Regions from separate parts of the Homo sapiens genome. Here regions 1, 2, 3, 4, 5 and 7 are each linked to region 6. Evidence: promoter capture Hi-C in 16 types of primary human blood cells and fetal thymus (Javierre and others, 2016). All regions are on one chromosome and are shown on one strand. The core of a region is centred on a gene start or on the middle of the fragment in contact, and the rest is flanking DNA. Distances in the headings are between cores, read along the strand shown. Region 1 has its middle 7.7 kb from the start of OCIAD2. Region 2 overlaps TEC (tec protein tyrosine kinase). Region 3 overlaps TEC (tec protein tyrosine kinase). Region 4 has its middle 30 kb from the start of CWH43. Region 5 has its middle 13 kb from the start of CWH43. Region 6 holds the start of SLC10A4 (solute carrier family 10 member 4). Region 7 has its middle 32 kb from the start of OCIAD2.

What was found. Contacts are between HindIII fragments. The CHiCAGO score rates a contact against its expected background, and 5 or more counts as called.
Region 1: a contact is called between a fragment that was not itself captured here and the fragment with the promoter of SLC10A4 in region 6, in 1 of 17 cell types (M1 macrophages). The highest score is 5.9, in M1 macrophages.
Region 2: a contact is called between a fragment that was not itself captured here and the fragment with the promoter of SLC10A4 in region 6, in 1 of 17 cell types (erythroblasts). The highest score is 5.6, in erythroblasts.
Region 3: a contact is called between a fragment that was not itself captured here and the fragment with the promoter of SLC10A4 in region 6, in 1 of 17 cell types (erythroblasts). The highest score is 5.2, in erythroblasts.
Region 4: a fragment that was not itself captured here is called in contact with the fragment with the promoter of SLC10A4 in region 6 in 13 of 17 cell types (endothelial precursors, erythroblasts, total B cells and 10 more); the score reaches 8.2 in endothelial precursors.
Region 5: a contact is called between a fragment that was not itself captured here and the fragment with the promoter of SLC10A4 in region 6, in 6 of 17 cell types (endothelial precursors, monocytes, naive CD4 T cells and 3 more). The highest score is 8.1, in endothelial precursors.
Region 7: a contact is called between a fragment that was not itself captured here and the fragment with the promoter of SLC10A4 in region 6, in 3 of 17 cell types (M1 macrophages, total CD8 T cells and M0 macrophages). The highest score is 6.0, in M1 macrophages.

The regions. Positions count from the first base shown.
Region 1 is chr4:48,912,676-48,916,297 of GRCh38, reverse strand. No RefSeq gene overlaps it. Among named protein-coding and RNA genes, the nearest start is that of OCIAD2, 7.7 kb to the right of the region's middle. The HindIII fragment of the contact is 155 bases long and covers 1,748-1,902 here.
Region 2 is chr4:48,181,291-48,184,777 of GRCh38, reverse strand. All of the region lies in intron 2 of TEC (tec protein tyrosine kinase), which reads left to right. Among named protein-coding and RNA genes, the nearest start is that of TXK, 49 kb to the right of the region's middle. The HindIII fragment of the contact is 1,421 bases long and covers 766-2,186 here.
Region 3 is chr4:48,140,816-48,144,524 of GRCh38, reverse strand. It overlaps TEC (tec protein tyrosine kinase), which reads left to right. Exons shown (of 18, transcript NM_003215.3): 15 at 3,106-3,170. Among named protein-coding and RNA genes, the nearest start is that of TXK, 8.4 kb to the right of the region's middle. The HindIII fragment of the contact is 5,689 bases long and covers 1-3,709 here.
Region 4 is chr4:48,954,535-48,958,291 of GRCh38, reverse strand. No RefSeq gene overlaps it. Among named protein-coding and RNA genes, the nearest start is that of CWH43, 30 kb to the left of the region's middle. The HindIII fragment of the contact is 3,052 bases long and covers 82-3,133 here.
Region 5 is chr4:48,970,952-48,974,610 of GRCh38, reverse strand. No RefSeq gene overlaps it. Among named protein-coding and RNA genes, the nearest start is that of CWH43, 13 kb to the left of the region's middle. The HindIII fragment of the contact is 493 bases long and covers 1,113-1,605 here.
Region 6 is chr4:48,482,059-48,485,433 of GRCh38, reverse strand. SLC10A4 (solute carrier family 10 member 4) reads right to left here and starts at 2,091. Exons shown (of 3, transcript NM_152679.4): 1 at 1,283-2,091; 2 at 292-502. The coding sequence starts at 1,872. RefSeq lists silencers at 1,912-2,041, 2,122-2,171. The HindIII fragment of the contact is 5,112 bases long and covers 1-2,818 here.
Region 7 is chr4:48,936,824-48,940,646 of GRCh38, reverse strand. No RefSeq gene overlaps it. Among named protein-coding and RNA genes, the nearest start is that of OCIAD2, 32 kb to the right of the region's middle. The HindIII fragment of the contact is 228 bases long and covers 1,662-1,889 here.

The sequences.
Region 1 (3,622 bases), core at 576-3,075, 430 kb before region 6:
TAAGAAGTAAGATTTTGGGTTTTTGCCTTTGAGGCTTTATCGTTTTAGGTGGGGCTTTGGGATGCAAGTTCTCATTGGAGACTTCAATCTATTCATAGACAAAGTGTAAAGTAGCAAGGCTTAGTCACATTAGCAACCAACAATGTAATACTGGGGAGATATAAATTCAGCGTGTTGCTAGCTTGCAGTGATAAAAGTCTTTTGAATCCTTGTTCAAAGACAATTCATTTGCATGTGCTTTAAAGACTCAGGAAATGGCCGTGGAAAACCTTTATTCAAGGTAGGTAAATAAAAAATGTTGCTATGGGATTATTAAAATAGACTGGAGAGATTTCAGGTACTTCCATTATTTACTTACTCACCAAATATTCTACATGACCTGCCTTAGCCAGGACTGTGGACATGCTATAGATGTGAATTTTAGTTCACTTCACTAGGGTTTCCAAAAGGCCATGTACTTTTGTGTCTCTAAATAAAGTTACATTTGTTCAGAGTCCCCTTTCACTCAGGAAGTTCAATCTCAAGAATTTGGTGGGGATGGGGGGCAGGAACCCTTTTTCCTAGGGTCAAGTGAAGGGATCTGGCACAATCTAGAACATTCTAGAAGATCCTCTGATCTCTTCTGGTCACACTGAACTGGTTGAGGTATTCAGTGTCAAAATCCACGTGGTCCCTTGAAAGCAGTGGCCCAGTCCCAGATCTTTTGGCGGCTGGGAAATTAAAGACTTGGTGAACCTTCTCTCTCAGGGGACCATGCAGCTTTTCTGCCATGAGGTCCTGCCACAGACTAGCTGTGGGAGGGAAGTGCTGGTCTCCAGTACCACAGGACCTGAACACCTCTGTCCCGCTCCCAGTCTTTTGAAAAGCTTTCAGAATCTTCCCTCCAGGGTTGGCCCACTTCCTCTCTTGGTTGGGGCTTCTTTTTTACAACAAAATTCTATATAGGGGTGATATTCCAGATGCCTGTTTCATGCTTTATCCCTGAACTCTTTGTTTATCCCTATAGTGCCAAAGTCATTAATCCTGAAATTAAGGACACTTGGTGACTTTCTTGGAATGGGGAAGAGAGAATCCTTACCATTTGTTCAGACTGCTGAAAGAGTATGTAACTCAAATTAAAATCTCAATATGGTTTTCTAGTCACAGAATTGAAGGTAAGAAAGACAGCCCCTGCCTTCAGGTATCTCACATCCTAGAATAGAGGCGAGTAAAGAGGTCATCAAAATACAGCACACAGGAGAGATTCCTGCCTCAGGGACCAGGGAGGGAGAGTTTCCCTGGAGGAAATGGTTATGAACACTTAAACAACACTCCCTATGTGCCAGGCACTGTGCCAAGCAATTATTTATATAAAGATATGGAGTGGGGCTATAACTGAGCCCAGGTAGTCTGGGTCCCTGCTTAAATTCCTAGGCTTTAGGGATATCTTCAATGGGACCCAAAGAAAAGTCATAAACTTGCCATGGCAGAGCATGTAGGTGCCTGTCAGAGGGTATAGGGTGGACACAGTGCAAAGATGCCCTGAGAGGCACTATCAAGTGGGAAGCTGGAATTGAACTGCCTGGAGCAGTTACAGCTTAGGCCCCTCCCCAAGTGGACTGCCAGGATACTGAAGCTTGTTTCCCTAATGCTCAGACAAGTGAATCAGAAAAAGTGGGCTGACTAGGGTAACACAGGGATTCTCAAAAATTCCTCTGTGAAAGCGAGTCTTCCCCCAACACTCTATCAAGATCTTGATTACTAAGCTTATTAGGTTTTGATTACTAAGCCTCTCATCTAAAATGGAATTATGCCCTGCAAGGAGCTAAATCTGTGGTTCGCATTTACATCTTGCTGTGAGTCATTTTCACCAGCAAATCAAATTGCTTTTCTCCCACCCTCACCATAGCCAGGTGAGAAGCTTGCTATCTAAAGAGAGGCTCAGTACAGATACTAGGACACAAAGCTGACAATGCACACTTGTCATGGGGTCAACACATTTGCCGTAAGATATCACTGTCCTCTGCTTAACCACATATTCTCTCTGCTACACCAGGAACATTCTGTTTTTTGCATTCAAAGGCTTTGCGTATCATGGACTACGGAAAGCAGTTTTGGAACATTAAAGTAGTAAATTTACTTTCAGGATGTCTATTGTGAGCAGTTGTGAGTTAAATAAAGGATAGCCTCTGGGAGGCCGAGGCAGGTGGATCACCTGAGGTCAGGAGTTCAAGACCAGCCTGGCCAATATGGTGAAACCTCCGTCTCTACTAAAAATACAAAAATTAGCCGGGTGTGGTGGTGCACGCCTGTAGCCCCAGCTACTCTGGAGGATAGGACTGGAGAATCACTTGAACCCAGGAGGCGGAGGTTGCAGTGAGCCAAGATTGTGCCACTGCACTCCAGCCTGGGCGACAGAGTGAGACTCCATCTCAAAAAAAAAAAAAAATGATAACAAAGGATAGGCCTGACGCAATGCAGACTGGAGACACAAGCAAATCAATATTCTCTCATCTTCATTCTTCAGCCTTTCCCCATTTGGGTCAAAATTATGATCATTGGGGCCTGTTTCACCTCTTGCTGAGTCTGGCATTCTGAACATCAAATCTAGATGAAGCTGAAGCAGCCAGAACTCTGGGTTGATGGCCCAAAAGCTCAGGCTGAGAACTGGCAACGTGCCTCACCCAACAGCCGTGCCAGCTCATAAGGGAAAGCAGAACCTGCAGTCCATCTTTGTGTGACACCTCATTTAAACCCAACTGCTCTGCTTTTGTGAGACTTGATATAATTTATTCCTCAGAGAGGGAATGAGTGACTCACGAGATCCTGTGATTCACAGAGCCTCTCACAGAGGTACGCAGATGGCAAGTTGAGCTGGAATAAGAAAAAGAATGGCAGGATGCCGAGGACTGCTCTTGCCACTCCATGAACACCCAAGATGTCCCCGACACACACATGAAACCTCTCCACACCAGGAATCCAGCCAGAGCCCCTTCTATAGAGCAGGAAAAGGTGGTTGTGGGTGAGCTCTGGGCTCCTGTGGGCATCAATCTAGATTTCCACTTGCTTTTTTTTTTTTTTTTTTTTGAGACAGGATCTCCCTCTGTCACCAGGCTGGAGTGCAGTGGAGCAATCATGGCTCACTGCAGCCTCAACCTCCTGGGTTTGAGCAATCCTCCTGCCTCAGCCTCCTGAGCAGCTGGGACTACAGGTATGTGCCAATACAGCTGGCTGATTTTTAAAATTCTTTTTGGTATTTTGTACAGATAGGGTCTCATGTGTTGCCCAGACTGGTCTTGAACTGCTGGCCTCACATGATCCTCCCACCTCAGCCTCCCAAGGTGCTGGGATTACAGGTGTGAGCTGCCTCATTTTGTTTTTAATCCATCTCCATCCCTCCCCTACTAGGGCTTGCTATTCAGCCAACCACACTGCACAGCACTCTCTCCTACCACACAAAGCTGCTTGTCCAGGTCTCTCCAGGTGTCTGTATCTATCTCTTGTTATGCATCAGTCTATGTGTGTCCTCTGCCCAATGAGGCTACTGGAGACATAACATACTGTAGAGGTTAAGAACATGAGCTCTGGGACCAGGCCACTGCAGTCTGAATCATGGCTGTGCCACTTCCCAGCTATGACCTTG
Region 2 (3,487 bases), core at 227-2,726, 300 kb after region 6:
TGTGTGTATTTTTTTTGTCTGCCTGGTCCTTTGTTGCTAAACATGCCATTTCAGCAGTCTGCTTTGGGTTTGTGTTTGAGATCTGTTTTAATTGTTGTGGCCTGTTGAGAAAGAACACAGACAGACTGAACACAAAACAATTCAGTGGTGCAAAATGAGGCCTAATGATAGGATAGCAATATATGTACAAACAGAGGTTCTTTATAATTGAATTGAGAAAAGAGGTGGGAGAGGGTGTCATGTGGCACACAGTAATATAAGCATGTGGATGGCAAGAGAACTACTTACGGAGAGATTCAATTCCAGCCAACACCCCATCTGTCACATCCAAGTAATGTTAATTTCACTTTATTTGCTGTATAGTTTTGTTTGTATTTAATTTGTGAACTTTCTTTGATTTTATAGTTGTATACAAGCTATAAGTTTAAGAAATTTCTACTGAATTTATGTTTGCACATAGTTAAATGATACCAAGTTACTTAGGTATAGGTGGCACTTACAAATTCAGGATTGGAATTAAAGTTCAAATCCTGGATTATTGTGTGACTTTGGGCAAGTTAATTATACTCTCTATGTATTGATTTCTCCATCTGCAAAATGGGGGTGACAGTAATTCTCATGTTATAATGCTGTGAGGATTCACTGAGATTATCCACATTAAGAGGCTAATGTATTGCTGGTTTATAGTAAGTGTTCTATAATTGTTAGCTATGGACATGATAATATTCTTTTTTTTAATAATAAAAGTCCATAACTATTCAAGCTTTACAGACCTGGAGTCAGGTAAAAGCATTACTGTTTTTGAGGGATTTTAGTTCAATTCTGGCTCAGCCTCTACAATCCTTAGCCAGTCTCATAGCCTCTCAGTGCTCAGTTTCCTGCAACTTCCTAGGGTTACTGTGAAAACTGACAGTATATGCTACTATTTGGGGAGTGAGTTTGTATTAATCAGGGTTCTCTAGAGAAACAGAACCAATAGGATACATATAGATGTATATGAGGAGATTTATTATGGAAATGGGCTCACGCAATAGATTATGGAGGCTGAGAAGTCCCACAATCTGCCATCTGCAATGTGGAGACACAGAAAAGCTAATTGTGTAATTCAGACCAAGTCCAAAGGCCTGAGAACCAGGAGTAGGGGAGGAGGCTGCTGGTGGAAGCCTTGGAGTCTGGAGAGCCAGGAGCACCAAAGTCTGAGAGCAGGAGAAGATGGACATCCCAGCTTTAAGAAAAGAGTTCGCTTTCCCTTTGCCTTTGTTTGTTCTATTTGCCCCCTCATCGGATTGGATGATGCCCATCTGCGATGGCAGAGGTGGATCTTCTTTACTCACTCAGCTGATTGAAATGCTAATCTCTTCCAGGAACACCTTCACAGACACCTGGAAATAACGTTTTACCAGCCGTCTGAGTATCCCTTAGCCTACTCAAGTTGACACATGAAATTAACCATCACAGAGTTCCATGTGTCAGACACTGTTAAGCACCTATGAACATTATCTTTAATCCTGCTGATAGCTTGGCAAAGAGAGCAGCATTGTCCTATTTCTACGGAGAAAGGAACTGAAGCACAGAGAGAAAACTGGGATTGCCCTAGGTCGTATGGCTTATAAGTGGCAAAGCAGAGGCTAGAAGTCAGGATCTGCTTGTCTCCAAAGCTCATGCTCCTTCTCTGAGGTCCTCTTGCAATGCAGACATGATTCACCCAGGAGATTTCCTCTGCCACAAGACCCTGGGAACAGCCACATCAGGAATAAAATTTGTGATGTGGGAAAGGGACGAATCATTTGGAATATTGGAGGGACACCCTGGCAAGCCTTTCCCTGTGTGTGGTGGGGACTCTGGATGCCTTGGGAAAAGGACAAGAGGGTGTCCTGAGATAAATGACTTCTCAGATCACCTGAGACCAGCCTGGTTATTTGTATACATTTTTTTCTCACTTAATTTCTTTAGATTAGGATGGATATTTGTATTATTAAAATACAGAGTATTCTGGAAATTAAAGGAAAACAGTGTACCTTGTAAGTCTTGCTGGGGGACAGAATCTCATCCATCTAACTCCGAGTTCTGCCATTCAGTTGATGTGTAGTTTAAAGCAAGTTATATTTCATCTTAATGCCTCATTTTCCCATATACGCTGGTTTACAATATATAAAATGGTCATTGCTTACTTCCATTTTCAAGCTTTGCAAAGTGTGCAAGAGAGGACACACACACACACACACACACACACACACACACAGAGTATTGCCCATGGTCCTTTGCATACTGGGTCAGCACACTGTTGAATTAGTATCCACTAAGTGTCAGGTGGTCTTCTTAGCTCGGCAGATTCATAGAGGATTCAAAGGTGAGTCAGGGAAAGTCTCAGCTTTATCATGATTTTCAGTCTAGTAAGCAGGGCAAAGGCTATAGAATAGAAAGGAAATATAACACAAAAAAAAGTAATGACCTTGGATATTTCCCCTTGGGCCACAATTTTTTTTTTTTTTTGAGATGGAGTCTCGCTCTGTCACCTAGGCTGGAGGGCAGTGGTGCGATCTTGGCTCACTGCAACCTCCACCTCCTGAGTTCAAGAGATTCTCATGCCTCAGCCTCCAGAGTAGCTGGGATTACAGGTATTTGCCACCAAGCCTGGGTAATTTTTTTGTATCTTTAGTAGAGATGGGGTTTTCCCATGTTGGGCAGGCTGGTCTCAAACTTCTGACCTCAAGTGATCTGCCTGCCTTGGCCTCCTAAAGTGCTGGGATTACAGGCATGAGCAACTCCACCCAGATGGGCCACAATATTAACAATAGCATATAGCATATGCCATGAATCATGAAGTATTTTCTTACTGAAGAAATTCTAAAGAATAGTCTAAATGGAGGAGAAACTGTGAGTTCCTTCTACGGTAACTGCTCAGAAATCATTTCCTAAAGCTTTTATTCCTAAAGGGCCCCACTGTGGAAAAGCTTTAAAAAGCTGGCATGTCAGGAGTTAAAGTGGGCTCGGGGAGAAAGTGCATGGGATAGCATGCCTCACTCAGTAACTCTCTGTTCCCTATGGTGAATCCTTTATCCCTTCCAATTCTTTTCTTTTTCTTTTTTCTTTTTTTTTTTTTTTGAGACAGAGTCTCACTCTGTTGCCCAGGCTGGAATGCAGTGGCACTATCTCGGCTCACTGCAACCTCTGCCTCCCAGGTTCAAGCTATTCTCCTGCCTCAGCCTCCCAGGTAGCTGGGACTACAGGTGCGCACCACCATGTCTGGCTAATTTTTGTATTTTTAGTAGAGATGGGGTTTCACCATGTTGGCCAGGCTGGTCTTGAACTCCTGACCTCATGATACACCCTCCTTGGCCTCTCAAAGTGCTGGGATTACAGGAGTGAACCACGGTGCCCAGCCCTTCCAATCCTTTTTTTCCGCAGCCCTGCCTAACCTCCCAGGGTTACCTTCAGATGTGGCTAGAATAAGCTGCCACTATATATACTGTATATGTGTTGTGAA
Region 3 (3,709 bases), core at 120-2,619, 340 kb after region 6:
TTTTCCCTTCTCACCTGTTCTCACTCTCTCCTCCATTCTTCTTTTCCTTCTGTTTTTCTTCTCTACCTGTTCTTTACAGATGCTTTCAGCTATCAGTAGCACTCTGTCCCCTGAAAATAATCAGCTGAAAATGTCTGTTTTCAGCATATCGGTAGCACTGTCTGTCCCCTGAAAATAATTCTTTTACCAAGAAGAGTGTAATTTTCATTTGGGACTTTCTCCCATATTTTAGTTTTAGCTTTCTAGTGATAAAGCATGGACACATTTCTTTTAGAAAGCAGAAAAACTTTAAAAAAATTTTTTTTTCCTTTGAGACAGGTCTCACTTTGTCTTCCAGGCTGGAGTGCAGTGGCGCAATCTTGGCTCACTGCAGCCTCAACCTCCCGGGTTCAAGCGATCCTCCTGCCTCAGCCCCCAAGTAGCTGAGACTATAGGCACGTGCCACCATGCCTGGCTAATTTTTGTAGAGATGGGGTTTCACCGTGTTGCTCAGACTGGTCTCGAACTCTTGAGCTTAAGCAATCTGCCTGCCTCAGCCTCCCAAGTGCTAGGATTACAGGTGTGAGCCACTGCACCTGGCCTTAGCAAAACATTTTTTAAAGTTAACAGTCACCTTAGACAGACATTGTTCTGATAAGTATTTTACAAATAAACTTGTTTAATCATAATTCTGGGAAGTAGATTTTCTTATTATTCCCTTTTTACAGATGAGGAAACTGAGGTGCAAATAGGATAAAATAACTTCCAATGGGCAAGTAAATTGTAGAGCCAGGATTTGAACCCAGGAAGTTTGGCTCTAAAGTCCCTACTTAACTACTATGCTATGCTCTCTAGAATTAAAACATATTAGAGAATTGAAGATTTGGAGATGGAACACTTTATTTCCTAGGTGTGTTTTGGGATACTTACCTTATCTTATATTCAGTTTCTGTGTCTGTAAATTGTGGGTTATAATGTTGTTTGGCTTCCAGGACTGTTTTAAAGGTCACATTATTTGACTGGGGCAATGGGCTTTGTAAAATAGACATGCTGTAGATAACATCAGTTATTGTTATCATTGTGTCAGGGATGATGAAGAACATCTCGTCAGTTAAAACTTGTGAACTAAGAACTAAGAACAAAATAGATGTCCTTATAAAACTGATAAAAACTGAGTATCTACGTGGGTGTGGCAGATTACACCTGTCCACACAGATGATGTTTTGGCAAAAACGATTCTTACATTTCTGTGCCTGTGATATTGGTATTACTATGGTAGGTTTGTGTCACCCCTTATGGGAAACTTTGGATGCTCTTGTCTCCTTGGTAAAGAATCCTGTTGACCATCCAGTGCAGGCATTGTGGAGTTGTGAAGTGTTTTCATAGGAAGATGCAGGCAGTCCAGGGAATGGATATTAACTCTCACTTTATAAGACTCTTAAAATGCACTCAGCAAGAAGGAACCTCATATGAGTGGAATTGCCACATAGAGAAAATAGAATTATGAACAGTCAGGAAGAAAAACATATCTTGGTCTATGGGTTATGGTATTAAAAATATTATCGGCCAGGTGTGGTGGCTCACGCCTGTAATGCCAGCACTTTTGGAGGCCGAGGCGGGCGGATCACGAAGTCAAGAGATCGAGACCATCCTGGCAAACATGGTGAAACCCTGTCTCTACTAAAAATACAAAAAAAATTAGCCAGGCGTGGTGGCAGACGCCTGTAGTCCCAGCTACTCGGGAGGCTGAGGCAGAAGAATCACTTGAACCCAGGAGGTGGAGGTTGCAGTGAGCCAAGGTCGCACCACTGGACTCCAGCCTGGTGACAGAGCGAGACTCAGTTTCAAAAATAAAAAATTAAAAAATTAAAAAAAAATTCTTGTCTTCCTTTTGAGAAATACCACGTCTTTCTATCAAACTATTTTCTTAAACCTTGTAACCTTGAAGAACATGCAAGAAAATATAAATTAAATAATCCACAATTGTATTTGACCAATTTTGTACATCATGTTATAATATACTGGGAACATAAATGAAAAAGCAAACTGTATTTACACATAGCTGTTCTTTTTGAGACGGAGTCTTGCTCTGTCACCCAGGCTGGAGTGCAGTGGCGCGATCTCTGCTCACTGCAACCTCCACCTCATGGGTTCAAGCAATTCTCCTGCCTCCAGTCCTAGGTAGCTGGTACTACAGTTGTGTGCCACCACACTTGGCTAATTTTTTTTGTATTTTTAGTAGAGAAGGGGTTTTGTCATGTTGGCCAGGCTGGTCCCGAACTCCTGACCTCAAGTTATCCACCCGCCTTAGCCTCCCAAAATGTTGGGATTGCAGGCGTGAGCCACTGCACCCAGCCTGTTCTTTGACTGGGATGAGATGACCAATCACTGAGCAGAAATATTGGATAAGAGATTGGTCGCCCATCATTTTGATGGTTGTGTGTTATTAAGCTCACCTAGTGAGAACCGGATTAAGGACTTCAAGAGATGTTCTCATTGTCAGTAAGAAAATTGGATAGTTTAATAAGAACAGGTCTGGGAAGGAGAAAAGTGAGTTGACCCTTCTATTAGCCCTTGTTTAAGAATGACAGTTGGCCGGTGAGGTTGCTCGTGACTATAATCCTAACAATGGGGGAGGCCGAGGCAGATGGATGAGGTCAGGAGTTCAAGACCAGCCTGGCCAACAAATACAATAATTAGCTGGCTGTGGTGGTGGGTGCCTGTAATCCCAGCTACTCTGGAGGCTGGGGCAGAAGAATCACTTGAAACTGGAAGGTGGAGGTTGCAGTGAGCCAAGATTGTGCCACTGCACTTCCAGCCTGGGCGACAGAGGCAGACTCTGTCTCAAAAAAAAAAAAAAGAAAGAAAAGAAAAAAAAAAGACAATTGGTAAAGATTATGTAATAATGCCTTATTGCAAATACAACTTTCTGACCTGCCTATTCATTTTTTTCAAATACACAATGGAAATACTTCCATAGGGGTAAAAACAACTTATTAAAGGGTGTTTCCACTCTCTGCAAATGTTGACTAGGTTACACTAAATTTAATATAAATAGAACTTACATTTTCCTACTTAAATGATAGAATTTTTAAACTAATATACCATCATAATGTTGTTTTCCAGGCTGCCAGAAATTGTCTAGTAAGTGAGGCGGGAGTTGTAAAAGTATCTGATTTTGGAATGGCCAGGTATGTCCAAGTATACGTGGTTTTAGGTGATGTTTGCATTTTTTTGGTGGAATTAATAAGTGTGGGAATAATTTGCACTGATGAAGCAGAAAGGAAATCTTGTTAACTGGTTCTCAGATTAAATTAAGTATATATTGTGATGGTAGTAATTCTCTCCACTAGGTGGTAGTATAGCCTGTTAAATACACTGTATTTCCTGGTGTGGATTAGATTTCTAGAATCTTTTGTTTTCACAAAAACATATTTGGTGGTGAGGTTCTTAGTATGTCCATGTCTGCAGTGTTTTTCTTCTCTTAATTTTTATAATTTAATAGTATTATAAAATACCTTTTAAAGGTATTTAGTTTATTTTTTCTCTCTTCTCCCTCCGTCTATCCATTCATTCATCCATACATCCACCCATAAAAAATCAGGTGCCTGCTCTGTGCCAGGCATAATGATAAGCTGAACCATATAGAGAATAAGACCTACAAGTCCTTGCCCGCATGCAGCTTACATTGAGGAAGAGGGTGAATCAGAAGACCTGATAAAGTTACATG
Region 4 (3,757 bases), core at 358-2,857, 470 kb before region 6:
CAATGTAATTCTTTCTTATCTGAGCAGAAGAAGCCCACTTCAAAGCCAAGTTCAAAAGTTATTTGTGACATTGGTGAAGCTTCTCCCAGCCCTCAAGTCAAGGCTCCACACACTCTCCTCAGTAGTTGGAACCAGTATCACGTAGTGTATTTTGTTACCTTTCTGATGTATCTGTTTCCTCCTATAGGCTCTTTGCAAGTAAAAGTAGTAAAAGTAAAAAAGTAACAGTAGTCTCTTATATATCTTTGCATCTTACACATCTAAATATGCACATAAATACACTGAAGAGGAAAAAAATACAGTGTTATCTATTGTTACCAAGACTTTCTGACCCAGCATGATTCTCTGGAAATTAATTATAAATATGTTTTGTGTTTAAGTGTCCCAGACATTTTCAAATTGCCTTTCATATTTTGCTAAATAACTTCCTGCCTTTGTTACAGGAAAGGGGTCCAGATCCAGACCCCAAGAGAGAGTTCTTGGATCTCATGCAAGAAAGAATTCAGGGTAAGTCCTCAGTGCAAAGTGAAAGCTAGTTTATAAGAAAGTAAAGGAATAAAAGAATGGCTACTCCATAGACAGAGCAACCCCAAGGGCAGCTGGTTGCCCATTTTTACGGTTATTTCTTGATGATACGCTAAACAAGGGGTGGATTATTCATGTCTCCCCTTTTGAGATCATATAGGGTAACTTCCTGACGTTGCTGTAGCATTTGTGAACTGTCATGGCGCTGGTGGGAGTGTAGCAGTGAGGATGACCAGAAGTCACCCTCGTCACCATTTTGGTTTTGGTGGGTTTTGGCTGTCTCCTTTACTGCAAGCTGTTTTATCAGGTTTTATGTTTTGTGCTGTTTTATCAGGTTTTGTATTTTGTGCTGACCTCCTATCTCATCCTGTGACTTAGAATGCCTTAACCACCTGGGAATGCAGCCCAGTAGGTTTCAGCCTCATCTTACCCAGCTCCTATTTAAGACAGAGTTGCTCTGGTTCACATGCCTCTGACACCTTGATAACAATAAAACCTTATTAATTTGACTTTTCTTCTAGAGAAGATAGGCTTTAAATTCACTGTGTTCGTATTTTTGAATATCTGTGTCAGAAAACAGTTGGTGATTTAGTTAGCTAGAAAATAGCCTTTATTTACGTTCGTGTATTATTTTGAATAGTTTTACATTAATGATGTTTAATTATACTTGTTTCTGCCACTATTACACACATTTCTGTTTCTGTTACTTTTTTTTCTGTCTCTCCCCACTAGAATGGACATATTCAAAAATGCAGGAATCTTGTGTACTGTATTCACTGTTGTGTCCCTAGAGTTTAAAATAATATTTATTTAAGATTTGTCAGCTAGAAGATGAAGAAATGAATGTATACTATATTTTAATTTTTAATAGAATATAAATTATGAAAATGTAAAACATTGTGCATAACACTCTACCAAATAAATTAGTTGAATTATAACTGGATGGTCTAATATTGTAGATATCTCCATTTGTGTGACCAACTAACACCTCAAGACTTTTTTTTTTTTTTTTTTTTTGAGATGTAGTCTCACTCTTGCTGCCCAGGCTAGAGTGCAGTGGCATGATCTTGGCTTGCTGCAACCTCTGCCTCCCAGGTTTAAGCGATTCTCTTGCATCAACCTCCCAAGTAGCTGGGATTACAGGCACCTGCCATCATGCCCAGCTGTTTTTTGTATTTTTAGTAGAGACGGGGCTTCTCCATGTTCGAGTCCCCCAGGTCTCGAACTCCTGACCTCAGGTGATCTGCCTGCCTTGGCCTCCTGAAGTGCTGGGATTACAGGCATGAGCCACCATGCCAGGCCTACAAGACCTCATATCTTAATGTCTTTGAGTGTCTAACCCTCATCCTACAGCCAAACCTTCTCCACACTCCTTCAGACCCACATTCCACTCCTATTCCTTTCCTTTTTTGAAGACAATCTTGTTTCTTTCCTTACTCAGAAGGTAAGGCCACCTGATGAGATCCTTTTCAAAGTCCCTCATTCTATTTCAAACTTTGTTTCAAACTCGTCGTAAACTTTATTCAAGATTTCCTTTCCATGCCTCACACTATTTCGTGTCTGTACATTTTCTATTTTCCTATAATTCTCTTTCCAGTTCTACATGCCTGGATCTTACTCATCCTTCACAGCCTGACACAGAAACCATGCTCTCCATGAAGCCTTCTTGGATTTCTCCAGCGAGAAGAAACCCATCCCTCCTGTGACTTTCCTCAGCACTTTATGTGCACTTCCTGTAGGACATTCTAAAAAATGAGGCCATTTTATGCAAAGTATTGTGGGCATTGGGAAGGTTAACAGATGGTTCCAGCCTTTGAGGAGTTTGCTATCTAGGAGTGTAGTCCAATAAACAACTATGAAGAAATATGTGAGAATGTTTGAGAGCCCTTGTTAGAATATAATGCAGCAAAACAGGTCTTTGGTTTTTTTTCATGTTTGTATTCCACAGAGTATGGTATAGATCCATGACTGAATAAATGCATATTTCAAGATTATTTAAGAAATTCTGACTTTTGGCTGCACACAGTGGCTCACACCTGTAATCCCAGCACTTTGGGAGGCCACGGTGGGTGGATCACTTGAGGTCAGGCATTTGAGACCAGCCTGGCCAACATGGTAAAACCCTGTCTCTACTAAAAATACAAAAATTAACCAGGTGTGGTGGCGCATGCCTATAGTCCCAGCTACTAGGGAGGCTGAGGCAGGAGGATCGCCTGAACCCAGGTGGTAGAGCCAAGATTGAGCAACTACACTCCAACTTAGGCAACAGAGTGAGACTTTGTCTGAAAATAGAAGAGGGGAGGAAGGAAGGAAGGAAGGAAGGAAGGGAGGGAGGGAGGGAGGGAGGGAGGGAGGGAGGAGAAGGGAAGGGAAGGAGGAAGAAGGAAGGAGGAAGGAGGAAAGAGGAAGGAGGAAGGAAGGAAAGGAGAGGAGAGAAGAGGAAAGGAAAGGAAAGGGAAAAGGAAAAGAAAAGAAAATTCTGGCTTTTTGCACTAAAAGTGCTTACCTGCCCTTCACATAACACTATCCAGAGAGGAAACCCTTCACTGTCATGCCCAGAAAAGGTAAGTATCCCTATGATCAGTCTGCAGATACAGAAGAGAAAGCTTTATGCTAAAAAAAGAGATTGTGTGTGTGTGTGTGTGCGTGTGTGTGTGTGTGTGTGTGTGTGTGTGTGTGTGTTTCAATTAGCCTGGAAGAAATGAGGCCTGGAGCAGAAAAGGGGAATGAGGTAAAGGACATGATAGTTAAGATGTACTAATGTTAGAGGCATCCTAACCAGAATGACTCCATCTGGATAAAGGCCAAATAAAGCCAAACCTGCTGGGTGACATTCCCAGGAAGTCAGGCACTCTTGGTCACAAGATGGTTATGGTTGAAGGAATGAGTTAACGATGCTAACTAAATAAGACCCAGAACTTAAGGAAATGTCCTGACATTTTAAGAACAAAGAGCATTATTAGTTTAAGAATAACTTTCGCTTTAAAAATAATAGTACACCCATAAATTCTTGCTGAAATCAATAGTGACACAAGAGATGAACAATCCTAATAGTTTGTCACAAGCTGATCACAAGCCTTTGTAATAAAGTACATTATTCTTAGCCTTAATATCCTATGTAAGCAAGCATTATGTTTGAGGTACGGGTGCTCCTCCCCTTGCTTTATGAGGATAACTTTCTTACTCTGTAATAAAAGCAGTCTCTACTAAACTATCTTAACTTCACTGTGTT
Region 5 (3,659 bases), core at 110-2,609, 490 kb before region 6:
CCATGCCTGGCTAATCTTTTTGTATTTTTTTTAGTAGACATGGGGTTTCACCATGTTGGTCAGGTGGTTCTCAAACTCCTGACCTCAGATGATCCATCTGCCTCACCCTCCCAGAGTGCTGGGTATACAGGTGTGAGCCACTGTGCCTGGCTTCATCTTTGATGTTCGGATAATCAGTAGCAGAGCATGGCATATACCAGGTGCTCAGCAGATATTTGGTGGGTGCAAATGAATGAATGAGTGAACAAATGAACATTGTTTCTTATTGATAGATAACAAAGACAAAGCTGCATAAATCATTTTAGGCTGGGATTTTTGTTCTACAGACTGGTTCTTCCCAATAATACTCTCCCTTCCCCTTTATTTCTTTTTCTTGCATTCCATCCAATCACTTCAAGGAGCTTAAAGATTATATAGTCAAAAAGTTTATTTTATTTTGTTAAGTTATTATTTTTATCACAGTGAAATTTTTAATTTTATCAAAACAGTTCTAAGATTCACACAGTAAGGACAAAACTTCTTTCTCCTGGCCCTACCCATCCCATCCCTAATTCCTATTCGTCAGGGGCAAACATCTTCATAGCTATTTTTTCAGCGTTCACTTCCATATTGCTTTTTCTTGATTTTTAAATATTTTGACATCATTGTTTTTATTGTAGAAGATGAAGGGTTAAATCTCTTACAGTGCTTCTCCCCTAGAAACACATGCACACAGATACATAACATGCACGCATACCCCCCACATACACACACCTTCTCCCACTCAATATAGTTGTTTCAACTATTTCTCAAATTTTGATTAAATCAATAATGTGTTTATCATATTAAGATTGCATCACTGCTAATCATGCAGAACGCTTAATTATATTTTATTTCTCATCTAATTATTGTGTTCTCTTTCGTTTATAATTGATTTTTTGTTAATTTGTTTGTTTGTTTGTTTACTTAACTGTGACAATCACAAACTCATTCCCAAACTATCCTCCAGTCCTGTAAAACCTCAGGACCATCAAGACCATGAGGTATTCTATCAGCTCCCTTTTTCTCTGAAGTCATCCCTCCTGGTGTTCTCTGCTCTTCTGCTCCAATCTGGGCAATCTGCTTTCCAAGCTTGCTGCAGGGCTGTTGTCCTGAACTTCCCTTCAGCCTCATTGGAGACATTGCTTCATCTCTCTCCCATACTCGACTCCCTCTTTATAGGATCCTATGTCTTCCTCTTGACTGGTTTACTCCAGCAGCTTCCTGAGAAAGAGTGCATGGGAAGTAAGTTTTTTTTGAGGCCTTTCATGGCTGCAAATGTCATAATTCTACCCCATGCATGTTAGTACAATCCATTGAGATTGAAAAATTATTAGAATAGGAAACACCATATTGCAATTATTCATCCCCAGGTTTAGCCAAGTGTGAGAGGAATTCCAAAATAATAGTGACTTGAACGAAATTGAGATTTTATCTCTGTCACATAAAGGTTGCCATAAGTAATCCAGGGCTGGTGTGCTTGCTCCACAGGTGTCAAGAGCCTGGGCTCTTTCTATCCGGGTACTCACCATCCTCAACAGGCATCCTTCGTTTCATGGTTCAGGACAGCTGCTTCAGCTTCAAGCTTCACATTCTCAGTCTAACTTACAAGAATAAGAAAAAGGAAGGAGAAGGACAGGGGACCACCCTTTCAGGACATTCCCTAAAAGTTGCATACCTGACTTCTACTTCCAACCCATTGACCAGAATGCACTCATCTGACTGCATGAACAGTCCATCCTTATTTTACCCTTGTGTTTAACCTTAATTTCATGACACCTCCCACAGATTTTATTGTACCTATATGTCTGCATCATTACTATTATTAGATTTTAAGCATATGGTGTGACATAAACATGCCTCTTAATTTTTATTATATCTTCACTTAGTAACCCAGATGTTGGGTGCCACTAACCATTACTTCTGTTTTGTAGGCTATATGAAGTTTGAAGCACAATATTACCATACTTCCCCAGAAGAAACTTCACTCCACAAATCATTAATGATTTTTGAAGGTTGGCCTGATTGTCTTCCTGGGGAACTTTGTCCATATTGGTAATTTATTTATTTATTTATTTAGAGACAGGATTTCCCTTTGTCACTGAGGCTGGAGTACAGTGGCAAAATCTATAGCCCGCTGCAGCCTTGAACTCCTGGGCTCAGGCTCAAGTGATGCTCCCACCTCAGCCTCCCAAGTAGCTAGAACTACAGGTATGCACCACCACATCCAATTAATTTTTTAAAATTTTGTGTAGAGATGGGGTTTGTATTAGCCTGTTTTCACACTGCTATAAAGATGCTACCTGAGACTGGGTAATTTCTAAAGAAAGGAGGTTTAATTGACTCTCAGTTCCATTCTGCATGGCTGGGAGTCTTCAGGAAACTTACAATCATGATGGAAGGTGAAGGAGAAGCAAGGCACCTCTTACATGGCGGCAGGAGGAGCAGGGGGAAGCGCCACACTTTTAAACCATCAGATCTCATGAGAACCCACTCACTATCATGAAAACAACATGGGGGAACCACCCACATGATCCAATCACCTCCCACCAGGTTCCTCCCTTGACACATGGGGATTACCATTCAAGATGAGATTTGAGTGGGGCCACAGAGCCAAACCATATCAGGGCCTTGCTATGTTGCCCAAGCGGTGGTGTAATCATACCTCACTGTAACCTTGAATTCCTGGGGTCAAGTGACCCTCCCACCTCAGCCTCCCAAAGTGTGGGGATTACAGCCATAAGTCACCACACCTGGCCAATATTGGCAGCTTTAGGCTTCAGAACTGTTTTTATCTTTTTTGGTGAGGAGGTCATGTAATGTAAAGCAGGGGAGGTGTTTTGTGTTTCCCACCTTGCAGAGTAAGGTGGCTTGTATCAGAAGAAAATGAATTCTACATTAATAAAAGGGCAGAGAAGAAAGAAGTTCCTTGGATTAGATTGATTTAGTTATTCCAAAATGTATACATATATCAAAATATCGGCCTGGCATGGTGGCTCACACCTGTCATCCCAACACTTTGGGAGGCCATGGCGGGCAGATCACTTGAGGTCAGCAGTTCAAGACCAGCCTGGCCAACATGCTGAAATCTCATCTCTACTAAAAATACAAAAATTATCTGGGCATGGTGGCTTGCACCTGTAATCCCAGCTATTCAGAAAGCTGAGGCAGGAGAATTGCTTCAACCCAGGAGGTGGATGTTGCAGTGAGCGAGATCATACTGCTGCACTTCAGCCTGGACAACACAGCGAGACTCTGTCTCAAAAAAAAAAAAAAAGAAGAAGAAGAGAAAAAACTATCACGTGTGCACCACCAAAACTATACACAATTTTTACTTGTCAATTAAAAATAAAGGACCAGGCATGGTGGCTTATTCCTGTAATCTCAGTACTTTGAAGACCAAGGCAGGTGGATCACCTGATCCCAGGAATTCAAGACCAGCCGTCTCTACCAAAAATACAACAAATTAGCCAGGAGTAATGGTATGCACCTGTGGTCCCAGCCACTCAGGAGGCTGAGGTGGGAGGATTGCTTGAGCCTGGGAGGCTGAGGTTACAGTGAGTTGAGACTGCACCACTGCACTCCAACCTGAGTGAGAGAGTGATACCCCATCTCAGAAAAACAAAAATAAAAAATAAAGG
Region 6 (3,375 bases), core at 842-3,341:
ACACTGTCATCTTCCCCACCCTGCTATGATCTGTTTCCTTCCAATGAGTACTGATAGTTCTCTTATGCTGGTTTTGATTAAGCTGTGTCTTAATTAAAGCTGTCATTCTAGGAATCCCAAAAGTGGAAGTTATCTTTGTAGCATAAACTTTTTAAAAAAAATTTTATCCATGCAACTACTTCCAAGTCCTTTTCTTCCTTTCCGCCTTCTCCAAACTTCCTAACATTTCTGCTGTGGGTCAGAGATCAAGGGCTCTCCAAGCTAGTATGGAAAGGGAAGAGGGGGCCTTACCTTCACAATGTAGTCAGCCACCCGGCTGTATTTGTAGCGAATGAAGACGCCCAACCCGATAGGTATGAGAGTGCTGCAGAGAGTCAGGGTCACGGTCCCTAGGGGTAGTAACTGCACGATAGGGGTGTTGATCCAAGCCCAGCTGTAGATCCACAGGCACAGGGGCATCAAGACGAGGGCCAGAAGCGTGGAGGAGATGGTCATGATGATGCTGCAGAAAAGGGAATGTGCAGAAATCAGAACGAGCTTTGAGTCAAACAGCCAGCTAACCTTTTTCTTGTATGTTGAGTAGAGGTGGAACGGGGAGACTGCAAGTCCCGGGGTTGAAGTCTGGGCAGAACCTACATCCGAGGAGAGTGCCAAGAGAGCAGCACGTCTAACACCGATGGAATTATGAACCCAAGGCAGGGAGGAAAAACAAGCCCCCTGTCTCGGTACTGCTGCCCTCGACATTATAAAGTCTATTGAGCCTGGATGATTCTGAGGGGAAGGAACGTTCTTCCTTGCAAGCCCCCTGCAAGGTAAGCCATGGTAAAGCTGCTGACTGCTACTTGTTGGTCGGACTCAACAATCCTGCACTCTATGTGAGATTACTTTCTCTGACGGGCCAGTAGCCCTATTTTACTTTTACGTTGCCGGCGAGTTCTAGTTCAGACTCCCCCTTCTCTTTGTCTTCCACTGGACAACGACCTGCGCTGCCACCCCGACGCTCGGGGAGGACGGCGAGGGACCCTGCTGAAGGGCCGCGCTGCGCATGGAATCCCAGCCTTGGAGCAGCTCCCTCGCCGTCTAGCTTGCTCCCCTAGCAGCACAACCTGCAGGTCGGCCTTGACTTCTAAAGCCGGGGCGTCATCAACTTCCTCTCCTTTTCTCCTCCTTCCTCCACGCCTAATTCCAACCCCTCCACTGCCTCTGTCCTTCGTCGTGAGCCCACGGCCGTAAACGCGCGTCTGGGATGAGACAGATGCCCAAGGAATAGACAGATCCGTACCTGAGGTTCATGTCGCCGTCAACCAGCAGGGACATAAGATTGGAGAGATTGCCGCCGGGACAGCAGCCACACAGGAGCACCGCCACGGCGGCCACCTCGTCCAGCTTGAAGGCGAGGGCCAGCAGGAAGGCCAGCAGCGGCAGGAGGCCGAACTGGCAGAGCGCTGCCAGCAGCGCGCCCACGGGCCGACGGACGTGCGCCCCGAAGTGGTTCACGTCCACCGTGCAGCCCAGGCCCAGCATGGTGATGCACAGGGCGGCGCCCACGAACACGTTCAGCCCGTGGTTCAGCGGCGTGTCCCAGAACGGGAGCGCGTGGGGCGCCCAGGGCCGAGGGAACGGGGAAGGGCCGTGGCTCGCCGCGCCGCCCGCGAGGCCGCTGGTCGTGGGCTCCGGGGTCGGAGTGGGGCCGGGGCTGAAGCCGAAGCTCGGACCCGGCCCGAGGCTGAGCCCAGGGCCGGGGCCGGCGCTGGAGGCAGGGGCGAGGGCGAGGTCCGTGCCGGGGCCCAGGCTGCTGGCATTGGGCGCCAGGGTGTAGTTGTCCCGCAGCAGAGGGGCGAAGAGCAGGGTCACGTTGTCGTTGCCGTCCATGGCGCGGCCGGAGCTGCGGATTCCGGTCCCCTCCCGCCGCGTGCCTCTCGCCGTCCCGCGGTCGCCGCAGTCGCCGCCCGTCGTTCTGCCCGTCGGTCTCCGAGCCCCGGCTGCGCGCCGCTGACGTGCTCGGCGGCGTCGGGGGCGGCGGGCCGGTCTCCGCTCCCAGGTCTGCAGCCGCCCGCAGCCTGGCACTCCGCGCAGCGCGGCCCCCCGGGTGAACCCAATCGCTGCGCCGGCTCCGCGCCGCGGCCCCGCGCCCCGCAGGCCCCGCCCCGCCCTGCCGCCCGGTCCCCTCCTGTGAATCGCCAGTAAGTGGTTCTGTTATCGAGTGTAGCCAGGGGCGGAACAAAGACCTGACAAAGGACCAGAGCAGGAAAAAACCGTTCCTGGCTGCCGATCAAGTTCTCTGATGGGCTCTGCCTCTTTATAATGAAATCTGGAGACCCAGACACACAAAGTGGAGGGGGCGGGTGGATAACCTCATCGATGCACGCTCATGGCAGAAACTGTTCCTATAGCCTGCAGCCCTAAGAGGGGTGCTTGACTTAATATGAGCGATTCTCTAGTAAGCAGGACACGATATCTGGCTTGAATTTGCAAACAATTTTTTGCATGATTTTCAGTCTTAAAGTAGAATGTAATAATAATATAGCGGGTTTTGTGCAAGTGCGTGTGCATTATTTCATTCGATTCTTACAGCAAAGCCGTGAGATAGATACCATTTTTACAAGCTCGATTTTTACAAACGAGGAAACTGAGGAACGAGGAATTCTCAGTCTTATCAACCGAACCCACAAGTACCTGGCTGAATCTGCACGGCGATGTGTCCCTAAAGAGGGCAGAGAAGAGCTTGGCTAATAACAATTTCCATGAAAAATGTGTGTTTAAGAAGTTATTGGCAGGTGGAGAGAGGATATTTCAGTGGCCACAGATTTACGAAGCTTTATGAGTAAGGCCCTGGCATTAGGATTAAAGGACTGAAAAGAAATAAAGTGCTGAGATTCCCTGCTTGAGACAGGTTTATCCCAAAACAATTCAAAAGCAGAGCTCTTAGGAATGGAGATGCAACAACTTTTAAGTCAGTCACTAGATGGCATGTAGAAAGGAAAATAATTTCGCTGCTTACCAACCAGGTGGGGCCTGTTAAGGAGGCATCTAGCTCCCTGGGGGTGACCATAAAGTGATAGTCAGTTGAGTTGTAAAAACCAACAGGAATTTCTAGAATGAAATCAAGGCTCAGTCTTAGCCCAGGGTTGCTTTCACAAGGAGCCAAGATATAGTGAATTCTTCTATCTGGGAACTTTTCCCTAACTCCTGTCCTGGCACAGAGTGACTTCTATTACCCAAGGGTGGGCTGAGCCTTTCCTCCTCCCCAAATCTCATGAAGATGATGGAGACTATGAAAAGTAAGACTTTGCAAATGCAAAGCATATTGCACTCTTCATCACAAATAATTTATTTTTTCTCTTTTGGACTGTAAATTCCACGAGGGCAGAGCTT
Region 7 (3,823 bases), core at 526-3,025, 460 kb before region 6:
AAAGTGCATGACATCATTGTTAATTTAAGAGCAAAAATTCAAGATCATAAAAAGAGGGAGAAGACCTATTCGTTGACCAGAGCAGACTTATGTGACATGCAGAGAATGAACTCTTGCCATGTACATTTGGAGTCCAATCATTTCAAGCCCATCAATAGTGCAATTGAGTACACATGGGCACAGAGAGCCTTCCTAAGGTATTACAGCAAGTCACAAAATCATAAACAAAACCAAAAAAATACATATCTTTGTGTCTGTGTCTCATGGACCTAGTTATTCCTGCCTGATGCCAACATCAGATTGAGAACAATAAAAATTTATTCAAACCAATAGCCAAGGAAGAAACTGAAAATATTTTCAAGAATTGCCTCTACATATGGGTTTTGGCATCAAGTAGTCATACTGCCTATAGTCTCACACTTGCAAAGAATAATTAATTCCAATGCAATATAAAATGTTCCAGGATTTAAAAAAGAATTACCCAATTTATTTTACAAAGCTAAAATAAATTACAGCAAACCCCAAAATGACCAGCACAGAAAAGAAAAATATGAAAACAGCATTTATTTTGGAGAGACTTCTAGCATTACATAACCAAATTAAGTATGCAGGTGCCCTCTGACTCAGAAATTCCACTGATGAGCACATATCCTGGAAACATTCCCAGGCAGGCTGAAGAGGGAAATGTACATGGTGGATCATTGCAGCATGGTGGTGGCAAGGAGATGGCATCACTGGGAGAGTGAATGGGTAAAATGTGGTGCAGGTACACCACAGAGTATTTTGCTGTGGGTAGAAGCAATTAGTTGGACATACTTAGAGCAGTAGAAATTGATTTTAAAATATGGTACATAGTGAAAAACGCAAGAAACAGAACAATATAAAATACAATATCACTTAAACAATATGCAAACCAGTAATATATGCTTTTCAAAGACACATTCAAAGAGAAATAAACATACACATTAAAAGTATTACTGATTGGAGACAATGGGACTAGGATATAAAATAAAGGGAGTAAATAAATGTATGGCTGCATTCCAATTTCCGTGGGCCCGAGTCCCTTTCGCCTTCATGGGTCCTTTCCTCCATTAGAAAAGTATTTAAAAATCATATTTTACAACTGTGTTGGTATAAAGATAAATATATTAATATTATGTATTAAAACATTTTCTCTGGGCCAGGGATGGTGACTCACACCTGTAATCACACTTTGGGAGGCCAAGGCAGGAGGATTGCTTGAGGCCAGAAGTTCAAGACCAGCCTAGGCAACATAGTGAGACCCTGTATCTATTAAAAATAAATAAATAAATAAATAAATAAAATTAAAATAAAAACTTCTTTGCCCTAAAAGTACATTTTTACTTCTGACTTACAAGAAATTAAAACACTTTCCTGGGCCCCTTAATGTATCATGAGCCCTAAGATACTGTGCTTTCTGTGCCTGATTTGACTCTGAATAAATGAATGAATGAATGACAATGGGTCCTTGTAGGAACAACTGATAATTGTATGTCAGGAACTAAGGAGTATGATTCATTCAGTGCTCTGCATTTTAGGTCCAAAAACCTTTCCAGAAACAGCAGTTCCTTAGGTGTGTTGAAGAACTCTGACTTATGAAAGCAGGATATTACTAAGACTTATGAAAAAAAAAGGAAGCTTTCCCAAAAACGTATTCCATGTGGAAAATGCTGAGTTAAACAAAGCTAAGCAGGTTTTTATATCTTATGATCTGTCAGAACCTTTACTATATAGTGTAATATAAGTTATGAATCCGCAAGAAGGTGCGCAGGGAAGTTAACAAGCAGGGTTTCCCAAAGCCATTTAACAGTGACATTCTTCTGCTTTGATGGTAAAGGCACTGAGCGCTGAGAACTCCCTGAAAAGCTTGGCCCAGGTCAGTCCCTGCCCCAGGATCAGGCAGGTGAATTCACTCACAGCTGTCTGAGCCTGGACCCCCGTCTACCCTGCCTGCCCAGGCAGAGCTGTGCTTCCACTCAGGCTGGCAGACTGGGGCTCTTCAACCTCTAGGTTGCAGGACAGTCCCTGGGGACCACTGTGGCCCAGGTCAGGACCAAGCCAGAGATTGTGGGTATGGTTTAATTTACAACCTCTGAATACTTAGACATAAAGTATGCGGGCTTTCATTTGTACAATACACTTCCTTGTCTTTTTCAGTTTTAGAGGCTGCCTGCATTCCTTGGCTTGTGGCCCCTTCCTCACATCACTCCAACCTCTTGCTTCTGGGGCCACATCTTCTACTACTGCCTTTGACTTTATTCCCTCCTTCTTATAAAGACCCTTGTAATTACATTGGGTCCACCTAGAAAATCCAGATAGTCTCCCTATTTCAATATCCTTAATGTAATCACGTCAGCAAAGATCCTTTTACCATGTAAGGAAACATTCACTGGTTCCCAGGATTAGGAGGTGGATATCTTTGGGGGCTATTGTTCTAACAGTCCTTGAGAGATTTCAGTGAGCAGAGCTCCACCTGCTAAGCTGCATTAGACATGCAGTATGAGAAAAAAAATTGGGGGTGCATTGACTCACTGAGATTTAGGAGGTTGTCTATTACTACAGCAGAATTTAGCACACATTTATACCTCATTTCATTTTTGCCTCCTGTTTATATTTTGCAATAACTCTATGCATTAAATATGACTTTTTAAAATAAAGTACTTTTAAAATAATATACTAGGAATAATCAATCTATGAGCAAACCAAAGAGTGTTTTTGTTCTTGAAAAAGGTAACTTCAGATCTGTAGACTTAAAAATAAACATTGCCCACATTTAATATCCTAACAAAATTCTTTCCTGACTCTGAAAAATCTTCAGATTCCCTTTGTTCCAAAAAAACTAAGAGGTGGCCGGGCACAGTGGCTTATGCCTGTAATCCCAGCATTTTGGGAGGCCAAGGTGGGCGGATCACGAGGTCAGGAGGTGGAGACCATCCTGGCCAACATAGTGAAAGCCTGTCTCTACTAAAAATAAAAAAATTAGCTGGGCGTGGTGGTGCCTGCCTGTAATCCCAGCTACTCCGGAGGCTGAGGCAGGAGAATTGCTTGAACCCAGGAGGCGGAGGTTGCAGTGAGCTGAGATCGCACCACTGCACTCCAGCCTGGCGATATAGCGAGACTTCATCTCAAAAAAAAAAAAAAAAAAAAAAAAAAACTAACAGATTAGCAATGTTGATTTACTTAGATGTCGAACCAGGTGAAAGTAACAAAGAAAACAAACTTGATTGAAAGATTGTTAAATCTAGTCCCTAAATCTAGTCCTAGGAAAAACCTAGAAGTTGAGGAATGAGGATGGAGGGAGTTTTTCCTGATAATGGAAATGCAAATACACTTACCTGACTTTCTAAAGCACAATCCTTTCCCTAGTTCATGTAATCGTGTGTTATAGGTCATAAAACGTAGAGTGAGAAATGTTTTACAGTCTTGAATTACAGAGTCCAAGCTGTGCCACCATCCACATGTCTTCTTCATAAGTTGGATGGACTTCTGGACATGTCAGTCTCAGTACAAATCAGTGGTCACCAGCTTTTTGATTGTGACCCTCTAATCAGCAAAAAATGTTCAGCCCATACTTCCATTATGTATACTTACCAATGTATTACAAGCATTACAATACGTGCACAAAAAAAGACACTAAAAGATGATATAAAGATAAATAATATTATTATTTCTTTATTTTGGGGGTTAGGAAGTAGGCTTTATTGGTGGGTGTGAATAAGGAGGGGCAAAACAGTGGGAGCCCCCATAAGTACAGGGCCCACCACTTGTCCAGGGGGCCATGATTGGGGGTGTTCGACCTGAT